2 separate regions of the Homo sapiens genome follow, and region 2 is linked to region 1. The links are contacts of gene promoters, found by promoter capture Hi-C in human tissues and cell types (Jung and others, 2019). All regions are on one chromosome and are shown on one strand. The core of a region is centred on a gene start or on the middle of the fragment in contact, and the rest is flanking DNA. Distances in the headings are between cores, read along the strand shown. Region 1 holds the start of UBE2C (ubiquitin conjugating enzyme E2 C). Region 2 overlaps KCNS1 (potassium voltage-gated channel modifier subfamily S member 1).

Region 1 (3,521 bases), core at 350-2,849:
TGTCTGTTCCAGAGGATGCCTGGATCTGAAGCTAGAGGAATTGAAATCCTTTGTCCTACCCTCCTGGATGGTGGAGAAGATGAGAAAGTATATGGAGACACTACGGACAGAGAATGAGCATCGTGCTGTTGAAGCACCTCCACAGACCTGAGGCCGGGTCCCCTGGCCACACTTGGCAGCCCTCCTCCAAAGCCCTCTTCCTCACGTGGCTGAGGCCACCGCTGGGACTGCTCCTAGATGGATCTCAGCGGCATTAAGCTGTGCCTGAGCGAGTTTGTAGTGACTCACTGCACAGCACCCCCAGACTAGCATGTGGTTCTATATTTGTAAAGTTATTGGGATAAGAAACAATTAAACAGTTTGTAGTAAACACAGATGGTGAACCTGCTGTGCCCTCTACCTTGTGGGAATTGACAGAACATCAAGGGCTCTAGAAGTGGGTGTAGGAAAAAAGGACGAGATAACCCTCACCCATAACAGTATAGAGCCAGGCTTGATAAGACCAACCTGGGAGCACCATGTACCCTGCCCGTCTTCCCTTTGCCCATTTGTAGTTTCCTTACCCAGCTAATGTAAGGACATGGCAGAATGCGATGGAGTTTGATGACAGATCATATGAAAAATAGAGTTGGCTTTTATTGCTCCCATTTTACAGGTTAAGATACTAAAGGACCCGCCCCAAGGTTACACACTACCCACTGGGGAGGTAGGATATACAGGATATGAACCTGTGTTGTTGGGGTTTTTGTTTGTTTGAAGACAGTCTTGCTCTGTTGCCCAGGCTAGAGTGCAGCCTCTGGCTCAAGCGATTCTCCCGCCTCAGCCTCGCCAGTAGCTGGGACTACAGGCTCGTGCCACCTCACCAGCCTTTTTTTTTTTTCTTTTCTTTTTTTTTTTTTTTCTTTTAAGTAGAGACAGGTCTCCCTATCCTGTTGCTCAGGCTGGTCTCGAACTCCTGGGTTCAAGTGATCCTCCTGCCTGGGCCTTCCAAAGTGTTCGGGATTACGGACGTGAGCCACTGCGACCAGCCTGAACCAATGTTGCCTTTTTTTATTTCTGTCATCTCTGCGGAGATGTATGGACCTATGTTTTCTAATAGGGAGCCTGCTGCTCTGGCCATCAGCCTTTAGTTTTTCCCCTCGCTGGGATTTTCAGATACTTAGGACGCAGCAAAGGTGCCCAGGCGATTATAATGGTGGGAGGGTACCAGTGCTGCAGGATTGGAGGCACTCCCTGCCCGAGGGAAATTGGATCAAGGCTGGGCGTGCCGAGTGTTCCCACGCGGAGTAAGACGTGTAGCCAGAAGGAGGGGTTCATCCCACGTGGACGTTTTCTTGGCCCTTTAATGGTTAGCGTTTTCCAACGGCCACCAATTCGCTACGGATTCGTTAGTTAATGGCAGCATCATCTACCAATCGGTTGTCAGAAGCGGGATTCTGCCGCCCAATAGCGGTGCGCCAGTGGGTAGGTCTAGCAGTGGCGCAGCAATAGAGCGCTCCGGAGCGTCTCATTGGCTGGATCAAACCCAAGCGAGCCATTGATTGGTCGACGCCCCCAGAGGGTTACAATTCAAACGCGGGCGGGCGGGCCCGCAGTCCTGCAGTTGCAGTCGTGTTCTCCGAGTTCCTGTCTCTCTGCCAACGCCGCCCGGATGGCTTCCCAAAACCGCGACCCAGCCGCCACTAGCGTCGCCGCCGCCCGTAAAGGAGCTGAGCCGAGCGGGGGCGCCGCCCGGGGTCCGGTGGGCAAAAGGTGAGTGATGCGGCCTACCACTCGCCGGGCCTGCCATGCCCTAGGCATTGGTACCCAGAGCAAAGATTTCTAGGACCACCCCCCGCCGCCACCTCCTGGAGCGGGAGATCTGCGGGTGCAGGAGAACACACCAGGAGCTCGGGGCCTGGCATTCCCCTGGGCATGGGTGTCGAGGGCGGAGACTTCCGGGACTCCCACCTCCTTGCGCGGGTGAGATTCGAGAGATGGGGGACAGGCCAGGAGCTCAGACCGCTCTTTGAGACTCTCCCGAAGGAGAATGGGAGGGTAGGGGCGCTGCCAGACTCCTTCCCTGGTGGGCCTAGATGAAGACGCTCAAGGACCCTCGTGACTTGGCCGAGACAGGGGAAGGGAGAAGTTGAGTCGGGCAAGGAAGAGATGCTAAAGCCTGGGGAATTAAGAACATGCCAGAATCATCCCGAGGGAGTCTGGAATTAGGGAGGGTGAGGACTCGCTAGGATCGTCCTGTGGATCTGGTGAGTATACCCTGAGCTGAGCCTGACCTTGGTGATGTGGGGAGCCTCCATGACGGCTCCCCCTGAGATTCAGGTGGGAGAAGATGCACCGTCTGGAGGCCTGGCCCATCCAGACTCCCAGGTAACCCCGAATACTCTTTTTTCAGGCTACAGCAGGAGCTGATGACCCTCATGGTGAGTGATTAAGTGCCCAGAACCCCAGCCTTCCATCCAATTTTCAGTAGCCTCCTTTTTTCCGTCAGCTTTTTTGCTAGACATAGGGGTAATGTAATTTGCTCCCTCCTGGGAAAGAAGTTCATACACCCCACCTACACCATTTCTTCCAGCAGTCCCTCCTCCCAATTCCATCCCCCCACACGAAGTTATCTCGAACACTTCCCTGAAGTCATACAAGACCCTCCCTATCCAGTGTGTCCCTACTTCCTAGCCCCAACCAAGCTTTACCCACACCCAACTCCCCGCCCTTCTTGGTATTTCTAGCCTATGAATTTGGTTGCTTTATTTTGGATCAGAGTGATGAGATTAAGGGGAGGCTGGGCGCGGTAGCTCACACCTTATAATCCCAACACTTTGGGGGGCTAAGGTGGGCGGATCACTTGAGGTCAGGAGTTCGAGACCAGCCTGGCCAACATTGCAAAACCCTGTCTCTACTAAAAATACAAAAATTATCCAGGCATGGTGGTGCATGCCTGTAATTTCAGCTACTCGGGAGGCTGAGGCACAAGAATCATTTGAACCGTGGAGACAGAGGTTGCGGTGAGCCGAGCGCACCACTGCACTCTAGCCTGGGCGACAGAGTGTGTGTGTGTGTCTGTCTCTGTCTATCTCTCTCTCTCAATCTCTCTCTCTCTCTCTCTATATATATATATATGTAAATATATATTTTTTAGTAGAGATGGCATAACCCCATCTATATCTCATATATATACACATATATATGTGTGTGTGTATACATATATATGTGTGTGTGTGTATGTGAGCATATATATATATATATATATATATATATAAAATTAAGGGGAAAGCTCACCCACTGACCTTTGCTATGCCCAAAAGTGTACTCCACATTCCAACAAATGTGTTTTCTCCCCAGATGTCTGGCGATAAAGGGATTTCTGCCTTCCCTGAATCAGACAACCTTTTCAAATGGGTAGGGACCATCCATGGAGCAGCTGGAACAGTAAGTGTAGGGCTGGGATGGGTGAGTGAGTCTGGGGAAAGGTGGGAAGTGAGATCCAAGTGCGAGCTCTGCTTCAAGCCTTTGGCGGAGCAAGA
Region 2 (3,521 bases), core at 369-2,868, 720 kb before region 1:
ATAAATTACCCTTTTTGACCAAGTTTGTTCCAACTGAATTCCTGTCACTTGCAACCTGTTCTGGCTGGCACAACCACAAAGTTTGTGCCAAATCCAGGACTGGAGCCTGAGAATGTGGATTCCAAGTCATTCCACATATTGCCCACCCTCTCCAATCACTCAGACAGCATGTCAGGGAGCCATCTCCATACAAGCAGAAACACGTCCTGGGGCCCAGCTCTTTATTTGCATAATGGTTTTCACTGATACATGGGAAGGGGAGCGAGTTGTTGCTTTTCTGCCAGGACCACAAACAGCCTCATGGTAGGCTCAGGCCAGATGATTCCCTCTTGAGCTTTCTCCACATCAGTATTAGGGACCTGTTTGTAGGGTCAGAAAATATGGAAGCCGTCGGGTTTCTTGGTGTGTTCTGCAAGACCATAAGGGTGCTACACGCAGCCCTTCTGATCTGCCCCTAACCTGGGTTCAGCTGGGCCTAGATGTAAGGAGCAGAGTGTGCAGAAGGGCTGGTATGTGTGTGGTGAATTCAAGGGAGGCCCTTTGCTGCTTAGCTCCATCCTCTGTTCCAATCTGGAGACCCAGAATCCATGCGTATGTAGGGGGCCCACTATGTACTAGGCCCTGTGTATGACACACACCTTCACACATGCCATTCTCTCTGCTTGGAGTACTCCCCCCTGGAACCTCATTTGCTTAATTAGCAATTTATCATTTGGATGGCAGGTTAGATTGTCACTTGCTCAGGAAAGCCTTCTCACTTTCTCGGGCCATGGTCCCTGATACATTATACACACCTGTACTTAGTAGAGCTCGCTATATTTATGTGATTATTGCATTAGAGTCTATCTTCCCTACTAGTCGGTAAGCTTCATGAGTATAGGGATATATTTTTCCACCACTGTATCTCTTGAGACTAGTAAGCAGCCCATAAGTCAGAAGCCAGTATATCAGAGTGGCTGGGCATAACACAACGGCATGTGTGTCTGTTTGTGGGTGGCAGCGGGGGAGACACTATGGGGAACCTGAGAGTGCATGCCTCACGCAAAGGCATTCAGATTCTTAAAATATAATAAAAACACTGTTGGACTAAGCCGAAACATGACTGCAGGCCACACATGAAGCCCCAGTTTAAGACTCTTCCAACGGGTATTTGTTGAGTGAGTGAGTGAAGAACCTACAAGGAATATATTGTAAAAACTTCAAGAACCAAGCAGGGACAGGGCAGGCGGAGCTGAACGGACCTCCTTTTCAGTCTTGTTCACACCTTTTTGAGGGCCAGGTCTCTCTCTGGCTATCTTTTTTTCCCCCTCTGAGCTTGGCACCCAGTGGGCTGTAGGAATTGGTTGATCTATTCAACATTTACCAAATACCTACTCTGCACCAAGCCCAGAGTTCAAGCAGACAATGTCTTCCATCTTGAGGCTCAGGGTGATGGGACAGAGATAGCCACAGTCAGACAACAACAGCACAGTGCTGGGTGCTGTAGCCACAGTATGTGGAAAGGGCTACTGGATCCCCTCCTCTGACTTTCTCAGCAAGTGAAGAGAAGATTCAGCAGGTGGGTATGAGAGATATGCCCCCAGCAAGGGTGAGGGGGCTGGAGCTGGCCAGAAGGGAGAGGACTCTCACACATGGGCCTGGATGGGTACTCTAGGTAGGGCTGGACAATGTAGGGCTGGACGTCTGTGTGATGGGCAGAAAGGAACTGCCAAGGTCAGACTGTTGGGGGAGGGTCTTAGAAGCCAGTATTCATATATGTCAGCCCTCTGAACATTTCAGAGCTGAGCTGGCTTTAAGTTAGAGACCCCTCTGCTCTCCTTGGCTTTCATTGCCCTCTGGGTCACAGATTCTGACCATTTGACAGAGGGGCTGGAATCTGGACTTGGGGGCAGGGATTGGACCACTTTACACAGCAGGTCTTGGCGCAGCTAGGTTGTCTAGATCTCAGGCCAGGGGCCCTTCAGATTTTCTTTCTCTCACATCAGCCCTGGGAGGAAGGTCGGAAGATTATTGCTTAGCAAATCTTGCATACCAGCTAAAGAGGCAAGTACAATGCTATGGTACTTCCTCCCAGGACTCATCCTCCTTCCCTCCAGGACTCATCTTTGATTGCTGACTCCTGTTGGATGCTCCTAGAAAGGAACCACAGCTGAGATCCAGAGCTCCTATATCCAAATCTCCTGTCTGGACCCTTCCCTGGCTCTGAAAGGGATTTCTTATCTTGTGGATCAACTCTGGGGATCCATGAATCACCAAAAAACACACGCAAACTTCATGAGGGCAGAAGAAAGATGGAGTTGATGGAGCATTGCTCCAGGCACACCAACAAGCCCAGATTCCAAACCTGACTCTGCCACTTCTAATTGTGACATCTGGGAGAGGCATCGCTCATCTCTTAGCCTTGGTTTCCTCATCTGTGAAGTGGGGATAATTCTCTTTCTCCAACACAAGGCCAAACATGACCTGGTTCATGTACAGGAGGTGCTCAGGAATCATTAGTATCCTTTCAACTTCCTCCCTCTGGCTCATGCCTGCTTCATGAATGGCTTGGAGGCAGGTTTATAAAGCTTTCTGAGTTGCTTGCAGAATCTCACAGAATCTAGGGTAGCACTGTCCTGTCCTGGGCCTTTGGAGGAAGGAATGCAGCTTTTGAATCTCATTTCTCAGGACAGCATGAGTGATCCTGGGAGGCTCACTACCATGAAGAACTTTAGCAGGGGAGGAATCTCTACTGTAGGGGCATGGCAGGGGGTCACGGATCCCTGGTTTTAATACATCTGAGGGTGTGGAGGCTCACTGGGGGCCTGGCTCTCTAGATCTGCAGACTGTCCCTCCTGAGAGGTTTCTCGGGATGTCTCCAGAGATGCCTCCGACACCCCATCAATGCTGCTCAGCAAGTCCTCAAACTCTTGGTGGTTGCTGTTGCGCACGGCTGCCTCCAGAGCCTTCTGGCGCCGGTAGAAGTGGGAGAACTTGTTGAAGATGATGGTGATGGGGAGTGCTACCACCAGGATGCCCCCTAGGATGCAGCCTGAGGCTGCCAGCTTGCCAGCCACCGTCACTGGCACCACATCCCCATAGCCCACGGTGGTCATGCTCACTGTGCCCCACCACCAGCAGGCTGGGATGGTGTTAAAGCCCACGTCCTCCTCCTTTTCAGCTGTGTAGGCCACACCAGAGAACACTGACACACCCACAGCCAGGTACAGCAGCAAGATGCCCACCTCACGGTAGCTGTGCTGAAAGAGAATGTAGAAAGCCAAGTCAGAGTGGATGGGCTTACAGTCCTGGTATTAGGCATATGGGGAAACTGAGGCCCAGAGAGTATAAAGGACAGGTCCAAAGTCAGCAAGATAGAGCTGGTGCTAAGGCCCAGGTCCCCTGACTTTAAACTAAGACCTTTCAACTACAGTTGGCAGCAAAACCCCCTGGTATTGCGCACAGGCCTAAGTTCTATTGTCCAAGGTATCTGCTAGGCTACAGCTGTTTTTTCCAACTCCGGGGTTACTGGTGGCACCACA

The links. Contacts are between HindIII fragments. The study calls those that stand out against the background at their distance.
Region 2: a fragment that was not itself captured here is called in contact with the fragment with the promoter of UBE2C in region 1 in 3 of the 25 tissues and cell types used here (dorsolateral prefrontal cortex, liver and thymus).

The regions. Positions count from the first base shown.
Region 1 is chr20:45,811,045-45,814,565 of GRCh38, forward strand. UBE2C (ubiquitin conjugating enzyme E2 C) reads left to right here and starts at 1,600. Exons shown (of 6, transcript NM_007019.4): 1 at 1,600-1,752; 2 at 2,393-2,420; 3 at 3,340-3,426. The coding sequence starts at 1,652. DNTTIP1 (deoxynucleotidyltransferase terminal interacting protein 1) reads left to right here. Exons shown (of 13, transcript NM_052951.3): 13 at 13-374. The coding sequence ends at 151. RefSeq lists a silencer at 1,403-1,592. The HindIII fragment of the contact is 8,392 bases long and covers 1-3,521 here.
Region 2 is chr20:45,092,102-45,095,622 of GRCh38, forward strand. KCNS1 (potassium voltage-gated channel modifier subfamily S member 1) reads right to left here. Exons shown (of 4, transcript NM_001322799.2): 4 at 1-3,239. The coding sequence ends at 2,769. Among named protein-coding and RNA genes, the nearest start is that of KCNS1, 7.3 kb to the right of the region's middle. The HindIII fragment of the contact is 5,760 bases long and covers 1-3,521 here.